Linked DNA regions of Homo sapiens: all the other regions are linked to region 4. Evidence: promoter capture Hi-C in 16 types of primary human blood cells and fetal thymus (Javierre and others, 2016). All regions are on one chromosome and are shown on one strand. Each heading gives the region's core, a stretch centred on a gene start or on the middle of the fragment in contact. The rest is flanking DNA. Distances are from core to core; before and after follow the strand shown. Region 1 holds the start of PSMG3 (proteasome assembly chaperone 3). Region 2 holds the start of MAFK (MAF bZIP transcription factor K). Region 3 holds the start of INTS1 (integrator complex subunit 1). Region 4 holds the start of TTYH3 (tweety family member 3).

What was found. The method cuts DNA at HindIII sites, captures the fragments that hold promoters and counts their contacts. A CHiCAGO score of 5 or more calls a contact.
Region 1: a contact is called between the fragment with the promoter of PSMG3 here and the fragment with the promoter of TTYH3 in region 4, in 1 of 17 cell types (neutrophils). The highest score is 7.6, in neutrophils.
Region 2: the fragment with the promoter of MAFK here is called in contact with the fragment with the promoter of TTYH3 in region 4 in 2 of 17 cell types (monocytes and M1 macrophages); the score reaches 6.6 in monocytes.
Region 3: the fragment with the promoter of INTS1 here is called in contact with the fragment with the promoter of TTYH3 in region 4 in 2 of 17 cell types (neutrophils and monocytes); the score reaches 11.2 in neutrophils.

The regions. Positions count from the first base shown.
Region 1 is chr7:1,567,926-1,572,454 of GRCh38, reverse strand. It overlaps PSMG3 (proteasome assembly chaperone 3), which reads left to right and starts at 2,423. Exons shown (of 2, transcript NM_032302.4): 1 at 2,423-3,331. The coding sequence starts at 3,116. It overlaps PSMG3-AS1 (PSMG3 antisense RNA 1), which reads right to left and starts at 2,382. Exons shown (of 5, transcript NR_027329.1): 1 at 2,176-2,382. RefSeq lists enhancers at 1,372-1,421, 1,432-1,501, 2,125-2,693, 4,400-4,529 and silencers at 1,802-1,881, 2,322-2,751. The HindIII fragment of the contact is 7,479 bases long and covers 1-4,529 here.
Region 2 is chr7:1,527,574-1,532,064 of GRCh38, reverse strand. MAFK (MAF bZIP transcription factor K) reads right to left here and starts at 1,363. Exons shown (of 3, transcript NM_002360.4): 1 at 1,167-1,363. RefSeq lists silencers at 644-773, 1,264-1,533. The HindIII fragment of the contact is 17,285 bases long and covers 1-4,491 here.
Region 3 is chr7:1,502,625-1,506,747 of GRCh38, reverse strand. It overlaps INTS1 (integrator complex subunit 1), which reads left to right and starts at 2,359. Exons shown (of 48, transcript NM_001080453.3): 1 at 2,359-2,425; 2 at 2,747-2,845; 3 at 3,557-3,847. The coding sequence starts at 2,788. RefSeq lists enhancers at 75-670, 856-1,045, 671-1,267 and a silencer at 2,154-2,713. The HindIII fragment of the contact is 9,546 bases long and covers 1-4,123 here.
Region 4 is chr7:2,630,351-2,634,627 of GRCh38, reverse strand. It overlaps TTYH3 (tweety family member 3), which reads right to left and starts at 2,642. Exons shown (of 14, transcript NM_025250.3): 1 at 2,350-2,642. The coding sequence starts at 2,472. RefSeq lists enhancers at 1-288, 1,132-1,241, 1,021-1,753, 2,486-3,217 and a silencer at 2,292-2,701. The HindIII fragment of the contact is 11,109 bases long and covers 1-4,277 here.

The DNA of each region.
Region 1 (4,529 bases), core at 1,174-3,673, 1.1 Mb after region 4:
TGACTTGACTTGGATTGGATACGAAGTCATCAAATGGTGAGAAGAGGGAGTCAAGATCTTCCTTGGAGCTTCAGTGGTGTAAATGTCAGAGGTGTTTGAACCAGAGCAACTTCATCTTGAATAGGGGCTGGGTAAAATGAGGCTGAGATCTGCTGGGCTGCATTCCCAGACAGTTAAGGCATTCTATGTCACAGGATGAGATAAGAGGTCGGCACAAGCTACAGGTCATAAAGACCTTACTGATAAAACAGTTTGCAGTAAAGAAGCTGACCAAAACCCACCAAACCAACATGGCGATGAGTGTGACCTCTGGTCGTCCCAGCTGCTACACTCCCACCAGCGCCGTAAGTTTACAAATGCCATAGCAATGCCAGGACGTTACCCTAAAGGGTTTAAAAAGGTAAGGCACGAATAATCCACCCCTTGTTTAGCATATCATCAAGAAATAACCACAAAAATGGGCAACCAGCAGCCCATGCTGCTCTGCCTATGGAGTAGCCATTCTTTATTCTGTTACTGGTGGAGGGTGTCCAGGTTCTTGGCATCTTGAACAAAGAATTGGACAAAATGCACAAAGCCACCGGGCGCGGTGGCTCACACCTATAATCCCAGCACTTTGGGAGGCCGAGGCGGGCAGATCACCTGAGGTCAGGAGTTCAAGACCAGCCTGGCCAACATGGCGAAACCTCGTCTCTACTAAAAACACAAAAGTTAGCCGGGCATGGTGACGCACGTCTGTAATCTCAGCTACTCAGGAGGCTGAGGCAGGAGAATTGCTTGAACCCGGGAGGCAGAGGTTGCAGTGAGGATCACGCCACTGCACTCCAGCATGGACAACAGAGACTCTGTCTCAAAAAAAAAAAAATGCACAAAGCAAAAAAAGAATGAAGCAACAAAAGCAGAAATTTTTTGAAAATGAAAGTACATTCCATGGTGTGGGGGCGGCCAAAGCATAGAGGCTCAGGGCCCCATTACAGAACTTGTGAGGTTTAAATACCCTCTAGGGGTTTCTACTGGTTACTTGGTGTACGCCCTATGTAAATAAAGAGGATGAAATAAAGTTACAAAATCATTTACTCAGTGTACACCCTATGGAGAGGGTATTTCCTGTCATAGCTGAAGTGTTCCCTGCCTCCAGACCCTGTTTTCCTGCCTCAATTCCTTTACTTTTCTAATAAACTTGCTTTCACTTTGTGGACTCGCCCTCAATTCTCTCTTGGGGTCTGGATCGGGACCCCTTTCTGGTAATATAGACAGAAAATACGGCCTTGACATGGTTGTCAGGAAACGACAGTAAGGCCTCCGAGGGTGGGGTTCTGAAGGGATGTTAAACGCCCCACCCCGAGGAAGGCTCTGGAGGCTCCAATCACTTTCAGCCTCTGCTACCAAGATGTCCGACCCTACCAATAAAACTTCCAGCAGCGGGGCGCGGTGGCTCACGCCTGTAATCCCAGCACTTTGGGAGGCCGAGGAAGGCAGATCACCTGAGGTCAGGAGTTCAAGACCAGCCTGACCGACATGGTGAAACCCCATCTCTACTAAAAATTTAAAAAGTTAGCCGGGCCTGGTGGCGCACGCCTGTAATCCCAGCTACACAGGAGGCTGAGGCAGGAGAATTGCTTGAACCAGGGAGGCGGAGGCTGCAGTGAGCCGAGATCGCGCCACTGCACTCCAGCCTGGGTGACACAGCAAGACTCCGTCTCAAACAAAACAAAACAAAAAACCTTCCAGCTTGGAGAAACTGAGAGTGAGCAGTAGGGAGTGAGGGGGTCCCTGGGAGGAACCAGAACTCATCCCGCTTCAGGGTGGGGCTGGCCCCCTTCTTGGCCTTGGCCGGGGCTTCGTGTCACGGAGCGCCCGAGGGACGGTCGGAGCCCACCCCAGCCCGCCCGCCGCCTGAGCCTGGCCGAGCTCTCTGCACCTGCACACGTCTGTAAAACGCGGATGAAACGCTTCTACGGAACCGGGTGGCTGAGATGAAGTGAGTTATGGGTATAAAGCGCTTAGAGCGATGCCTGGCGGACACTCGGTGCCAAATAAGCGTTCGCTGTGGCGACGATGACGCCTCCAGCCCAAAGCCCGTGGTCGAGCAGGGCCGGGCTCCCAGCGCTAGGGGGTTCCTAGGCGCGGCGCTTCGGGGGTCCTGGACACAGACACGGGGGACAGAGCTCCTACCAGCGACGATCCCGAGGGTCTGCAGCAGAGGGGCTGAGGCCCGGGACGGGGGTGGTCGCAGCGCCCTTTCCTGAAAAAACGGGGTTCGGCTCTAAGGCGCCCCCAAGCCCTGCCGGCAGCGCGGAACCCGAGCCGCTCAGAAGCCCGGGAGCCCCAAGTCTCCGGGACCAGAAGCGCCGCGGCCCTGACTTCCGGAAGGTGGACGGAACCCGCGGACGGGGCGGGCCCGCGTGGCGCACGCAGAGCCACTTCCGGGCGCGGCGCCGGCTTGGTGAGCGCGGGTACCCGCGGGCTTCCCCGGGCGGCTGCGTCCCCAGTAGCCCGGCCGGCCTCGGCACCGCGTGTCGTGGGGGTCCCGGGCCGCGGCTGCAGGGCCGGGGCGGCGGCGAGGCCGAGGGGCGGGAAGCCACTGCCCGGCCTGGCAGTGTGAACGTGCAAGTCGATCCCCTAACCCAGAAAGCCCCAGGCGCGGTCTCTATGGGCGGCCCCGCTCCTGCTTCTGTTTTATTTTTTTACGGACAGGGTCTCGCTCTACCGCCCGGGTTGTAATGCAATGGTGTGATCACGGCTCACCGCAGCCTCGACCTCCCGGGCTGAAGCGATCTTCCCGCCTCAGCCTCCTGAGTAACTGGGACCACAGGCGCGCCCTGCTGGTTTTTTTTTTTTTTTTTTTTGGTAGAGATGGGGGTCTCGCTATGTTGGCCAGGCTGGTCTCGAATTCCTGGCCTCAACGATCGTCCTGTCTCGGCCTCCCAAAGTGCCGGGATGACAGGCATGAGCCACCGCGCCTGGCCCCTTCTTTTGAATGGGCCTCCTTGCGTTTCCGTTTCAATGCCCCGTGCTACTTTTTTGGGAGCCCCAAGGCTGTACTGTTTGATTGACTCCTTTTTTTCCCCTTTCTTTTTAACCTAAATTAAAGCTGCCACTGCAGAGCCCCGCCATGGAAGACACGCCGTTGGTGATATCGAAGCAGAAGACGGAGGTGGTGTGCGGGGTCCCCACCCAGGTGGTGTGTACGGCCTTCAGCAGTCACATCCTGGTGGTGGTGACCCAGTTTGGGAAGATGGGCACCCTGGTCTCCCTGGAGCCCAGCAGCGTGGCCAGTGACGTCAGCAAGCCTGTGCTCACCACAAAAGTCCTTCTGGGGCAGGATGAGGTAAAGTGGATTGGCCGGGAACTGTGGCTCACGCCTGTAACCCTAGCACTTTCAGAGGCCTAGGCGGGCAGATCGCTTGAGGCCAGGAGTTTGAAACCAGCCTGGGCAACACAACAACACACACACAAGTCACTACAAAAAAACAAGTGCCTACACAAAATATATATATAGAGAGAGGCTGGGTGCAGTGGCTCACACCTGTAATCCCAGCACTTTGGGAGGCTGAGGCGGGCAGATCACTTAAGGTCAGAAGTTCCAGACCAGCCTGGCCAACATGGGGAAACCCCATTTCTACGAAAAATATAAAAATTAGCTGGGTGTGGTGGCACATGCCTGTAATCTCAGCTACTCAGGAGGCTGAGGCAGAAGAATCGCTTGAACCCGAGAGGCGGAGGTTGCAGTGAGCTAAGATCGTGCCACAGCACTCCAGCCTGGGTAACAGATAGAGACTTGGTCTTAAAAAAAAAAGGAAAAGAAAAGGAAACAAAAAATTAGCTGGGCCTAGTGGTGTGTGCCTGTGCTCCCAGCTACTTGGGAGGCTGAGGTGGGAGGATGGCTTGAGCCCTGGAGGTTGAGGCTGCAGTGAGCCATGATTGTGCCACTGCGCTCCAGCCTGGGTGAGAGAGCAAGACTCTGTCTTTAATAATAATAATAATAATAATAATAATAAAGTGGTCAGGAAGGGACCCCCAGGGAGGAGCATAAACCTCTCCAGTGGCTGTGATTTGTCAGTAAGGACATGGGGCATCTGGCGGACAAATACCCCTACAGCGATAGCATTTTCCGGGCATTTGTGGGTCTCAAGGCGCCCTGCTTGCCCTCAGTGGATGCTTTGTCCAGCCCGCAGGCATTTTATCCAGCAGACAAGCAGAAGCAGCAGTTTTGTCATTCGAGCCGCCTCCCCTGCCATGGTACATTACGTGAGCAGGCGGCTGGCTGTGCTGTGCTCTGTGGAGATCACACGTGAGATTCGACAGCACTCGCTTCTGCAGGCTTCTCTTTCCTGGGTTCTTTTAGATGAGAGAGAGCCAGAAGAGGCGGGGCTGCGGAAGGCGCTGGGAAAATGAATGGAGTGATGGTCTTTAGCAGTGTGCCCGTGACTGGAGTGTTCTGAGTGCTGCCAGAACTCTGAGTCACAGTTGCATGGACTTATGTGGCGGTTAATGGTGGTGTGGGAAGCCTGCCTGGGTTCCTAAGG
Region 2 (4,491 bases), core at 114-2,613, 1.1 Mb after region 4:
TGGGGGGCGGTGGGGGGCGTTTTGAGTCTCAGGATCTTCCCAAGGCCAGGCACCTGGCCAGAGATTGGCTGGCTGCCTGTGGGTCACCTGGTGAATGAATGGTGAGTGGATCTAATTTCTGCCTCAGCTACAAGAGCTACTTAAGAAGCAAGAAAACAGCATGCTCAGGGACGCAGGACACCAGGAGAGGGACACGGGAGGCCCCGCGAACACGGACACACACGGTGTGAGCGCGAGAATGCAGTGCAGGGCCACTGCTGTGTCCCAGGCGGACCCAGGTCAAGGGCCAAGGCCAGGCGGGGTCCTGGCTTTCTGGGTTTCTCGGTGGCGCCTGGTCCCACCCCCCAGGATCTAGAGGCTGTGCAGACGCAGACACACACAGTCACGGGCACATACACAGTTTCCTGAACTTGACAGAGGCACAGAAGAACTCACGCAGTGGGAGCGGGAAGAGGCCGGAGCCCCTGCCCCACACGTGAGCAAAGGGACGAGCCTTGGGGCCACTGTCACCTGCCCCCCTCCCGCCTCCCCACGGCCTTCCTTCCAGCAACCCTGGCAGGTGGGCGGCTGAGAGCGACACCAGTCCCAGGATCCCGCCTGTGGGGAGACCCGGTTACCCCCACCCCGTTCCCGGGCACGCGTGACCCCAGCCACTGGGCCAGAGCGCCGCCCGTCACCGGGAGGAAGCGCGGGGGGCAGTCCGGGGCCGCACGCGGAAGCCACGCTGGGGCGGAAGCCGCGGAGAATCCACGCGCCCGCGCCCTCCCCGCACCGCCCGCACGTGGCGCCCGCCCCGCCCCGCCCCCCGCAGGTGTGAAGGCGCGGGCCCGATGCGCGCCGCCGACCCGCGTGGATCCTCGTCCTCCCAGGTCTGGGGTCCGCGCCCTGGGGCCCCCGGCGCGGCAAGCATGGCCCGGGCGGCACGTGCAGGGGAGAGAGCCTCGCGTCCCGGGGAAGCCCCCGGGCCTGCGGGGCGGGGCCCACCTGGGCAGGTGCCCGGGCCGCGCCGCGGGCCGCATGAGGGTCTCGGGCCCCGCGCACCCAACCCCGCCACCCTCGGCCCGCGCCCCCAGGCGGCCGTGACTCAGCGGCCAGGTAGCCCCGGCCCCGCGCCCCGGTCCCCGTCCCCGCCGCGGCCCGGGCCCCGCTGCCCCACCGCCCCTCACCTGGCGTCGCGCGGAGGGCGCGGGCGCGCGGCGGCTCCTCGCGGGCACGCGCTGTCCTCGCGCCGGCGCTCACTGTCGCGCTCCCCTCGGCCGCCGCCGCCGCCTGGCGCTCGGGCTCCGACTTCGCGAAGAACAACAAGTGCCCCCGCGCCGCCCGCCGCCACCGCACCCGCCCGCCCGGCTCCCCAGCATCTGACACCGCTTCCGGGATCCGCGGCGCGCGCGTCACACCGCCCTGCCCCCCGGGCCACGCCCCCTCCCCGCCCCGCGGCCACGCCCCCCGGCCACGCCCTCCTCTCCCGCCCGGGGGGCCGCTGGCCCCGCGCGCACCTGCAATCCCCGCGCTTTGGGAGGCCCTGCGGGAAGATCTCTGGAGGCCGGGAGTTCAAGACCAGCCTGGGCAACATAGCGAAACCTCCCTTCCCCCATTCTCTGTCTCTATAAACATAAAAAACATTAAGGCCAGCTGGGAACGGTGGCTCATGCCTGTAATCCCAGCACTTTGGGAGGCCAAAGCAGGAGGATCGCTTGAGCCCAGGAGTTCCAGACCAGCCTGGACAACACAGTGAGACCCCCATCTCTACAAAAAAATTACAAAAATTAGTCGGGCGTGGTGGTATGTGCCTGCGGCCCCAGATATTCAGGAGGCTGAGGCAGGAGGATGGCTTGAACCTGGAAGGTGGAGGCTGCCATGATTTCATCACTGCACTCTAGCCTGGGTGACAAGGTGAGACCCTGTCTCAAAAAAACAAAACAAGCAAACCAGCAATGTAAAAATGGGGATAAGCGGCTAGTGATCACAGCCTCTGTGGGTGGGGCCAGCCCCCTTCTAAAGCCCCAGCTGGTGGTTGCCAGGGGACACAGCAGGCCCAGGATGGGGTTAGGGCACCACTGGCCCAAGGAGTCCTGTGAGGGATCCTCAGGTGGGGGCGGGCCCCTGAGGGAGCTGCCTCTGCTTCCTGTCACAGGTGGAGGACAGGCTGGAGAGGGGATCCGTCTGGAGCCCCTTGCCACGCTTCTGGGTCCCCAAGTCCCGCCCCCCTCTGAGCGCTGCAGGAAGAGGAGTTTCAGGCCTGGGCAACCGAGGGCCCCCCAGGACACCCATGGCATCTGCCCGGGGTTCTGGGAAGCCTGTTTTCTCAGCTCAGGTGGGACCCGGGAGCCTGTTTTCTCGGCTCAGGTGGGACTCAGGAGCCAGTGCAGGGAGGTCTGTGCATCTTCTGGGTGTCGTCCTTACCACCATGTGGCTGGGGATTTAGGCAGCAGCCCAGTGGCCTCTTGCTGTGGAGCGCGGGGGCAGCCTCCCGGGCCATCTCTCCCCCCCACTTGCGGGTTCTGCACTGGCCACCTGGGAGGCCCCTCCTTGCTAAGGCCCACACGGCCGTCTGGGGCAGCTAGCCACAGTGATGCCTGCAACCTGGCCGCAGAAACAGGTGCCAAGAAATAACTCAACAGCAGCAGTAGCGACAATGTCCCACGTCCCCAGGATGTTTGCAGAAAGACATCCCCCGGGGATGGGAAAGGTGCTTCCCTTGTCCTGGCCCACACTCTGCACTCGGGGTCCTGGGATGCGCTGGGAGCCTCCAGAGAAGCTGTGGCCATCTCCGCGGGACTCTTTACGTTACTCATGGTGTCGCTCCTCTAACCCAAATGCATTCTTTCCATAGCAGGCTTTTGTTACTAATCACACACTTTTATTATCTCTTTAATTTTTTAATTTGTATTTATTTATTTCTGAGATGGAGTCTCACTCTGTCGTCCAGGCTGGAGTGCAGTGGCACCATCTCGGCTCACTGCAGCCTCCGCCTCCCAGGTTCAAGTGATTCTCCTGCCTCAGCCCCCTCGAGTAGCTGGGATCACAGGTGCCCACCACCACGTCTGGTTAAATTTTGTTTTTGTTCTTGTTGCTGTTTTGAGATGGAGTCTCACTCTGTTGCCAGGCTGGAGTGCAGTAGCACGATCTCGGATCACTGCAAGCTCCGCCTCCCAGATTTAAACAATTCTTCTGCCTCAGCCTCCTGAGTAGCTGGGACTACAGATGCCTGCCACCACGCCCGGCTAATTTTTTTTTTTTTTGTATTTTTAGTAGAGACGGGTTTCACCATGTTAGCCAGGATGGTCTCAATCTCTTGACCTTGTGATCTGCCTGCCTCGGCCTCCCAAAGTGCTGGGATTACAGGCGTGCGCCACCACACCGGCTGATTTTTGTATTTTTCGTAGAGACGGTTTCACCATGTTGGCCAGGCTGGTCTCGAACCCCTGACCTCAGGTGATCCACCCGCCCTGGCCTCCCAAAGTGCTGGGATTACAGGCGTGAGCCACTGCATCCAGCCTAATTTTTAAAATTTTGAATTATTTATTTATGTTTGTTTTATGAGACAACATCTCACTGTCGCCCAAACTGGAGTTCACTGGTGCAATCACAGTTCCCTGTAGCCTCCACCTCCCAGGTTCAAGTGATCCTCCCACCTCAGCCTCCTAAGTAGCTGGGACCAAGGGCTGGTGCTACCACGCTTGGCTAATTTTCTTTGTTTTTTTTTGTAGAGACAGGATCTTGCTCTGTTGCCTAGGCTGGTCTTGAACTCCTGGGCTCAAGTGATCCTCCCGCCTCGTCCTCTCAACGTGTTGGGATTACACGCATGAGCCACTGTGCCTAGCCAAAGTTTACTTTTTATTGTGGTAAAGTAAACATCACATAGAATTTACCATTTTAACCATTTTTTTTAAGTTAAAAAAATATTTTTTCAGAGATAGGGTCTTGCTACGTTGGTCAGGTTGGTCTTGAACTCCTGGCCTCAAGCAATCCTCCTACCTCAGCCTCCCAAAGTGCTAAGATCACAGGTGTGATTAGGTGAATAGGCTGGGCATGGTGGCCATCACACTAGGCCAAGTTAACCATTCTAAGTGTACGGTTCGGTGGCGTTAAGTACATTCACGTTGTGGTACAAACATTGCCATCATCCATCTCCAGAAATTTTTCATCATTTAGTAGTTCCTTTTGTAAAAAAATGTTAAGTTCTGGCTGGGCAAGCTGGCTCACGCCTGTAATCCCAGCACTTTGGGAAGCTAAGGTGGGTGGATCACCTGAGGTCAGGAGTTCAAGACCAGCCTGACCAACATGGAGAAACCCTGTCTCTACTAAAAATACAAAATTAGCTGAGTGTGGTGGCGCATGCCTATAATCCCAGCACTTTGGGAGGCTGAGACGGGCAGATCACCTGAGGTCGGGAGTTCAAGAGCATCCTGACCAACATGGAGAAACCCCATGTCTACTAAAAATACAAAATTAGCCAGATGTGGTGACTCACGCCTGTAGTCCCAGCTA
Region 3 (4,123 bases), core at 1,110-3,609, 1.1 Mb after region 4:
AAGAGGTGGTCAAGGTTGACAGGAGGAGGAGGAGGAGGAGGAGGAGGAGGGGGAGGAGGGGAGGAGGGGGAGGAGGAGAAGAAGGGGAACGAAGGGGAGGGGGGAGGGGGAGGAGGGGGAGGGGAAGGAGGGGAGGGGGAGGGGGAGGAGGAGAGGAGGGGGGAGGGGGAGGAGGGGGAGAAGAAGGAAGGGGAGGAGGGGGAGGAGGAGGGGGAGGGGGAGGGGGAGGGGGAGGAGGAGGTAGTTGTTCTCAAGGTCGACCCTGAGGTTCTGGCCTGGGCCCGGGTGAGGGCATTTGCCGAAGGCACAGGCCCCGCATGCAGGGGCGGTGATGCTGGTCAGAGGATGAGGAGAGGCAGGTGGCGGGGCAGAGGAAGCTCTGTGCAGGGTGCTCCCATTCAGGTGACAGGAGGAGGAAGCATTACCCCATCGGATCTCCCCTCCCCTTAGAGAGTTACCCTGAGGGACAGATTGAGAAACTGTAGAGGGATGAAGCCGCACAGCCCCCGCCTGGCGTCCGGCAGGGATCCGCGCCTGACCGGCCTCTCCTCCCATGGGCACCACGGACGTCTCCTTCCGGACTCGCTGCCCACACAGCGCAGGGTGCAGGGCCCTGGAGCCCTTGGGGTCCTGCGGGGACCCAGCTGGTGCCCACAGGAGTGGAAAGAGACCGTGGCGGGTCACACAGCAGTTCTCAGGCTGCAGCCTGGGGCCATGAGCCTCACTGAGGCCACAGTCAAATGGCCACACCCAACTTCAGGGGCACAGGGAGACCAGCTCTGCCTTGCGGTCCCTGGATGAGGAGATGGGACACACCGGGCAGGCGGTGCTCAGGACTCCCTCGGTGGCGGGGCAGCGTTCGAGTCAGTGCCCTGCTGGGAACAGATCTCCAAGATGTGGTTAAGTGGCAAAAGCCAGGTGCAGAAAAGAGGAGCCGTGCGCTACCTGCAGGGTGACAAGGCAGAGGGAGGCACACGGGTGGCTGCCTGAACGCACACGGAAAAGCCGGGAACACAGGCACAAATCAGAACACAGGCTGACTCCAGGGGAGGGGACCAGCTGCTCAGGGGTCAGGGGAGACCTTCGACCCTTTGACTGGATGATTCCCCCACCTTTTATTTTTATTTTTTTTTAGACAGGGTCTCGCTCTGTCGGCCGGCTGCAGCGTAGTGGCACCATCATAGCTTACTGCAGCCTTGACCTCCCAAGCTGAAGAGATCCTCCTACCTCAGCCTCCTCAGTAGCTGGGACCGTAGGCATGCACCACCATGCCTGGCTAATTTATTCTTGATTTTTGTTTGTAGAGATAGGGTCTCACTATGTTGCCCAGGCTGGTCTCAGACTCCCACTTTGGCCTCCCAAAGGGCTGGGATTAGAGGTTCATGCCACCATGCCCAGCTAATTTTTATTTTTTTGTAGAGATGGGGGTCTTGCTATGTTGCTCAGGCTGGTCTCGAACTCAACCGATCCTCCTGCCTTGGTCTCCCAAAGTGCTGAGATTACAGGCATGAGCATCACACCTGGCAACTGTATGATCTTTTGTGTCTTTTGAGTTTTGTTCCCATCAGTGTTTCCATTAAAAAAAAAAAAAAAAAGGCGTGGGGGCGGGGCGGGCGCAGTAATTCCAGCACTTTGGGAGGCCAAGGCGGGCGGACCACCTGAGGTCAGGAGTTCGAGACCAGCCTGGCCAACATGGTGAAACCCCGTCTCTACTAAAAACACAAAAAAATTAGCCAGACATGGTGGCGGGCGCCTGTAATCCCAGCTACTCGGGAGACTGAGGCAGGAGAATCGCTTGAACCTGGGAGGTGGAGGTTGCAATAAGCCGAGGTCGCGCCACTGCATTCCAGCCTGGGCGACAGAGCGAGACTCCGTGCCAAAAAAAAAAAGAAAAAAGAAAAGGGTGAACTTTGTGGAACACGAGTTCTATCTCAATAAAGCTATTATTATTATTATTATTATTATTTGAGACAGGGTCTCTCCCCGGGAGCCCCCCGGGCTGCGCCCCCTCGCCAGTGCCTGCGCCCCGGCCGCCCCCGCTCTCCGGGACGTGCAGAACCTGCCACTTGACTCATCCGCGGATCCCTGACGCCACTCCTCCCCGCCGTGCGTCCTGGAGTGCGTCCCTTCGCAACGCCAGCACCACCTGTGAATGGAGAGGCCAGCGCCTGCCCCGCGCCGCCGACCCACCTGGACCGGACCACATGCGCGCGGCGCCGGCCAGCCCGCCTCCCGCCGCCATGGGGCGCTGCAGGCATCAGGCCGGCGCCGCGGGCCTCTCGCGCCTCCTTCTGGGCCCGCTTCCCGCCGCACTGTTTTCCTTCCGGTTGTTCCGGAAGTCGGGTCCTCGAGGGCGGTGAGATCGGTTTCCGATTCCGGGGTGGCCGGGTGGCGGCGGCGGCGCTCCGGTCGCGATGGGCCAGAGGTAAGTGAGCCGCGGCCTGGGCGCTTCCTCATTGCCGGGCGAGCGCCTGGTTCTCCCGGCTACCGCTCCCGGCCTCTGGGCCGTCCCTTCTGGTTCTGCCGCCTCCAGCCCGGCGTCCGCGTCGCCTGCTGCCGCCCGACTGAGCCGCTCCCGGGCGGCTGGGAGGCGGGGTCCCTGCAGCTCCTGCAGCATCGCCCCGCCGGGCGGGCGCGGGACCACTGTCCCCGGGTCCCAGGCCCAAGCCCCGTGCGGCAAGGGAGCGAATGAGCGAGCGAACGAGCGAATGAGTGAAGGAATGACCGCACGCTGGCTCCTCCGCAGGTGACGCCGCAGCCGCCGGGAGCCGCGAGGGACGGGGCAGGATGAACCGGGCCAAGCCCACCACGGTGCGCCGGCCCAGCGCCGCGGCCAAACCCTCAGGTGCGTCTCCCTCCTCGCTCTGCAGCCCGGGGGTCTTTGGGGGTCTTTGGGGGTCTTTGGGGATCTCAGCTGCCGCGGATCCTGCGTTGGGCTTGGTTGTTCCGCAGCCGCGGCTGTTTCCAGGAATTCGGTCTGGAAACACTGCTCTCGGTCCTCAGCGGCTCTGAGAGTCCCTGGGAGGCTTGGGACAGTGGCGACTTCCTTCGGGACCCCGGTGATCTCGTTTCAGGCTGAGCTGCAAGGCGGCCGACAGTAGCGGAAGGTCTCCCCAGCCAGGAGGCGGGAGGCAGCACAGTGTAGCGTAGCACGGGGTCTGCGGCTGAACTGTCGGCTCAGATCCTCCGGACTTTGCCACTCGCCTGCTGTGTGACGCTGGGCACGTCGCTTAACCTCTCTGTGTCCCTTTCTCTCTTGTAAAGTTAGAGTAATAGCACCTATTGCGGAAACTCGGGGCGGGGGTTACTAAGCACACTAATTTGGATAGACCAGAGATGGCCTGGTTTGTGGTTAGCGCTACGTGACTGTCCACCATCACCTGTGCGTATCCTGCTGGTCCCAGCTCTGCTGTAGGCTGCTGAGTGAGCTCTGGCTTCTTCCTTGCCTCCTCTGACCCTTGTTTAATCCCCTCTGACATAACAGGAGGTTAGAGTCAGTCTTTTTCCATCTTGGGTGTTGCAAATGTGCCCGGTTTTCTCTCTCCTTTCTCTGCAGGGCACCCTCCCCCAGGAGACTTCATTGCTCTGGGCTCAAAGGGTCAGGCCAATGAATCGAAAACGGCGTCCACCCTGCTGAAGCCAGCCCCTTCCGGCCTGCCTTCTGAGCGCAAGCGGGATGCGGCGGCCGCGTTGTCCAGTGCCTCGGCCCTCACCGGTCTCACCAAACGCCCCAAACTCTCCTCCACACCCCCTCTGAGTGCCCTGGGGCGCCTGGCTGAGGCTGCAGTGGCAGAAAAACGAGCCATTTCTCCGTCGATTAAAGAGCCATCTGTGGTGCCAATTGAAGGTAATGAGTCTGTGGACATCCCCCGAGAACACCCCTCAGCTCATGCCGTCCATCAGGTGTTCAGGGAAGGCCCCCTCCAGGCCTAGTGCTGCCCGTATGGCCGAGGTCCTTTGGGAGAGCGGATGTTTGTGGCTTGTTCTTGGAAGTGCTTCTCACGTAGATGCCCTTATCCCGTGTGTGCATCTGCGTCCTGCACTGCCAGTGGCTGCCCTTTGAGAACCGGGTCACTCCCTTATTGAGTTGTTTGTCTCATGTGTCTGTTGGACGCCCCCTTTG
Region 4 (4,277 bases), core at 1,393-3,892:
AAGGCCAGTCCCCCGTGCCACACCCCCAACTCCCAACCCCAGGCCCCACCTCCCCTCCATCCCCCCGCCCCCATAACCACGGGGCAGATGCCCACTCCCCAGCAGGGCACAGCCCAGGTTGGGGCAGCACAGAGACAGCTAAGAGGGAGCCCTCAGTCAGGATGGGTGAGGGGTCCACCCCCCACTACAGCCAGCAACTCCTCACCAGGGGAGGCAGGAAGGGGCGCCTGCCACAGCCCAGGCCCACCCACTGCCCATTCTCCCAGGAAGGGGGCTCCTGGCCCTTGCCTCCCAGGGGTGACCCTACACAGGAGGCACGGCCAGCCCAGATTCAGGATGAGGCAATGAAGGCTCAGAGACACCAAGCAGTTGCCGAAAAGCACCAGTATTGGAAGGGCAGGGGCAGGACGCACGCCAGGACCAGCTCACGCCACAGCCCCTCGCCAAGAGCCGGGAGTGGAGGCGGCGGGGGATGGAGGCAGGCCGGTTTCCACATCGTGAATTATTCAGTGGCTAATTCTGCTCTGTGGAGATGAGGCAGGAGAGAGAGTGAGTCAGAGCCCTCCCACAGCAGAGCAGAGCGCAGGGCAGGGGAGGAAAGGGGGCAGAAGCCAGGGCCTCCCAGGGCCATAGCACCCTGCTGGAGGCCAGGCAGGTCAGGCTGAGCAGAGGGGCCTGGCTACTGCCCGGAGGCTCTTGTGGGCTGCAGACATCATCGCCCCTCACTCCCTCTCACTGCCTGTCTCGAATGTGGGAATGCAGGCACCCCGGAGGGCTGGAAGGAAGTCCAACTGTGGCTGGCAGCTCGGGCAGGTGGCAGCCCAAGGGGCAGCAGGAAACAGCCGCCCCCCACGCCCCAGGGCTGCCCCGGAGCTTAAGAACTGACAAATGGGCCAAACCCTCAGGGCAGAGAACTTTCCAAAGTGAAGCACACCCTCCTTGCAGCTTCAACAGAGTCCTCCAGGGACAAGTGGCAAAGCCATCAGCATGGAATAAGTTCCAGAAGTTCCTGAATGTGCATTGCCCCCACACTGAACGGTCCCCCAGGGCTGGGCTTCTAGAACGCAGGCGTGAGATTTTATACCAATCCTTCCGCCTCCCTCCTCCCTGCTGTGTCTGGGCGTGCCTGGGCCGATCCCTCGCCCCCTTCCTCATCTGTTAGGAAACGTCATCGGCTCGGCTGGGGGGCCTGGGTGCAAGTGAGCGCGAGGCTGGGAGCAGTGGGCTCCCAGGTGCCCTGCTCCTCCACTTCCGCCTCCCTCCTCTGGATGCGGGAGGCCACAGACAACGCAGTTCTGAAGAGTCCAGGTGCTAGGCTGCCCGCGGAATACCGGATTCCCAAGCCATTTTGATAAGCAAAGCCATCCCCACCCCACCATGGGGCTCTGCCATGATCCGTCCAGAGAGAAACTCCGGGTGACCAGGGACCCTGGTCACGGGGCTTCTGGAATCCGGATCTCTAGGCAGGAAGGAAATGCCCACAGCTTGGTCCCCTGCCCCGCACTCAAATGACAGTAGCTTGGCGATGGGGGTGGTGCTGGGGCCTGGCATGATGCCAGGCTAAGGGCTCCCCTGGGAGAGGGCTGCAAAGGGCCCCCAGCCGCCCCCCAGGTCTGCCTGGGCTCAGCCGCTTCCAGCCTCCCTGCCTGAGGCCCACGGTGCTTCCTGGCCGCCGGGCCTCCCTCCCCCGGGGGCTACAGGCAGCCTGGTCTCCCACGGCCACACACGGCACCCTGTGTACATCCCACAGCCTGACCGCCAAGCAGGGGGTCATTACCGGCCACAGAGGGCTGGCGGCGGCCCAGGCCATTCACCCACTGGAAGCCTGGCAGTGGGATTCCCCAGTCGGGGGTGAGTGGGCGAGGAGTCTCTGCCTGCCTGCACCCAATGTGCTCAGGCACCCGCTCTGATCTCAGAGCCTGGGGGTCATCTGGGGAGGGGTCTCTGCTGGGACACAGCACCAGGCCGCCAACAGTGATGGTGGAGAGGCCCTCCACTGGCCAAGGGGGCTCACGGAGTGGGGAGAGGCAGCTCCATGAAACCCAGGGGCCTTAGTGACACCAGAAGGGAAGGCCAGAATCGGGAGGGGGGCCGTGGACCCTCACTGGGGGTTGGAGGGTATTTAGACCTTTGAGGAGGAGGCCATGACCCTGGAAGAAAGGGTCCTAGGACTCAGAAGGGACCCTCGAGAAGGAAGGAGGCCGGTACCTGCGAGGAGGAGGTGGCCGTGACCCTGGAGGGGGGGATGAGGGGTCTTTAGGCCCTCGGGGATGGGGGCCGTGACCCTGGGAGAGGAGGGGGCCGTGACCTGGGGTCCCTGACCCCGCGACCCCGAGAGGCCCATGTCACCTGCTGGTAGTCGGTGTCCTCGGGCCGGAACTGGCTGCTAGTGGCCTCCCAGCTCAGGTCGAAGTGGGGCAGCCGGTGCAGGAGGCTCACCCACCAGGGCGCCGCGTAGCTGACCCCGGCCATGGCGGGGCCCGGCCGCCTCCGGATGCGCGCGGCCTGCGCGGGGCTCCCTTGCTGGCCCGGGGCGCGGGCTTCAGGGACCCGTCGACCCCCGCCTGGCCGCCCGCATCATCCGCGCGCTCCTGGGCCCGGCCCGGCCCGGCTCGGCCCGGCTCGGCTGCGCTCGGCTCCGCTCGGCCGCCCGCGCCCGCCGCCTCTTTGTTCGCCGCCGCCGCCGCCGCCCCCTCCGCACCCCCGCCCGTCCGCCCGCCGGCCCCGCCCCCGAGCCTCCATTGGCCCGCCTCCCGCCAGCCCAGCCCCCGCGCGCCCCGCCCTCTGTCCCGCCTCTTACCCACCATTGGTCTATCCCCCGCCGATCCCGCCCCACAGCGTGCCCCGCCCACTCGCTCCTGAACCTCTATTGGTCCTTTTACCTGATGGTTTTGCCCCTCCACTCGCATCCCCGCCCATTACCCAATGGCCCCGCCCCTCCACGTGTCCCCGCCCTTCGGCCCCGCCTCTGTACCGTCATTAGTCCGCCGGCAGAAGCTCCGCCTACTTCCTCGCCTTCTTGGAGGGACGCCTGGCCCCTAAGGCGCTGGAAGACCGACCCTCAGCGCTGTAAGACCCGGGCCAGCCAGTCTTTCCACGTGGCCGTGGGGGCTGGAACCCTGGCTGCATATGCAGCTGCGCTTCATTCCATGAATTCGCTCTTCGTTTGGATCTTTGCATGTTTCTTATTTGACTCGAGGGTCCGGCCTGGTGGGCTGGGCTGGTCTTGGCCTCCCCATTGCACACACAACAGCCCACAGCCCGCAGCGCCCAGCAAGGCACCGAGTGGCCTATCTGTACAATGGACATGATCTGGATTCAGGGCCTGGCTGGGGCACCTAGAGCTGTGTGATCTGGGGCAAGTTACTTAACCACTCTGTGCATCGGTGTCCTTGTCTGTAAAAGGGGATGATAAAGCTACGAGTGTTGGCAGGGCGTGGTGGTGGTTCATGCCTGTAATCCCAGCACTTTGGGAGGCCGAGGCAGGCGGATCACCTGAGGTCAGGAGTTCGAGACCAGCCTGGCCAAAATGGTGAAACCCCGTCTCTACTAAAAATACAAAAATTAGCCAGGCGTGGTGGCGGGCGCCTGTAATCCCAGTTACTCTGGAAGCTGAGGGAGGAGAATTGCTTGGACCTGCGAGATGGAGGTTGCGGTGAGTGGAGATTGCGCCACTGCACTCCAACCTGGGCAACAGAGTGAGACTCCATCTCAAAAATAAAAAAAATTTTTTTTAAAAAGGTACGAGTGTTAAGTGGATCCGCAGGTAGATTCAGTCCCCATCCGGCCTTCCCTCTGGGGAAGGTTGAGTCTTTTGTCAAGACCTAAGATGAAGACGGTGCCCTGTTCTGGTGTCCTGGGGCCTAAAAATTCAGGCACCTGCCAGAGAGGGCCCATCATGGGCTTTGGAGCCACACAGCCAAATTTCCTAACAGGGCCTCCCCATGCCTGTGCCTCCTCCTTTGCTAAAGGGGAGATGGGAGCTGCCAGAGCCAGGAGGATGGACATAGTGCGTGCTTGGGCCCAGGTGCACGCCTCCCTCCGCACTCTAGGGCAGTGGGTGCATCCTGGCTCTGCTTCATCACCTGGGGCCTTATTCCTGGACCTCCTGTGTACTGAGAAACAGGTTTCCACACCCGGGCTCCACCATCTGCTGTGCCCGACTTGGCCAGCTCTGTGGGCAGGCAGGCCGTTCCTGGCAGGAAGAGCTCTTTGCAGGCAGGGACGGTTCCGGGCAGTGTCTTCCCAGGAGGCCTGGACTTTGGCTCATTGACTGC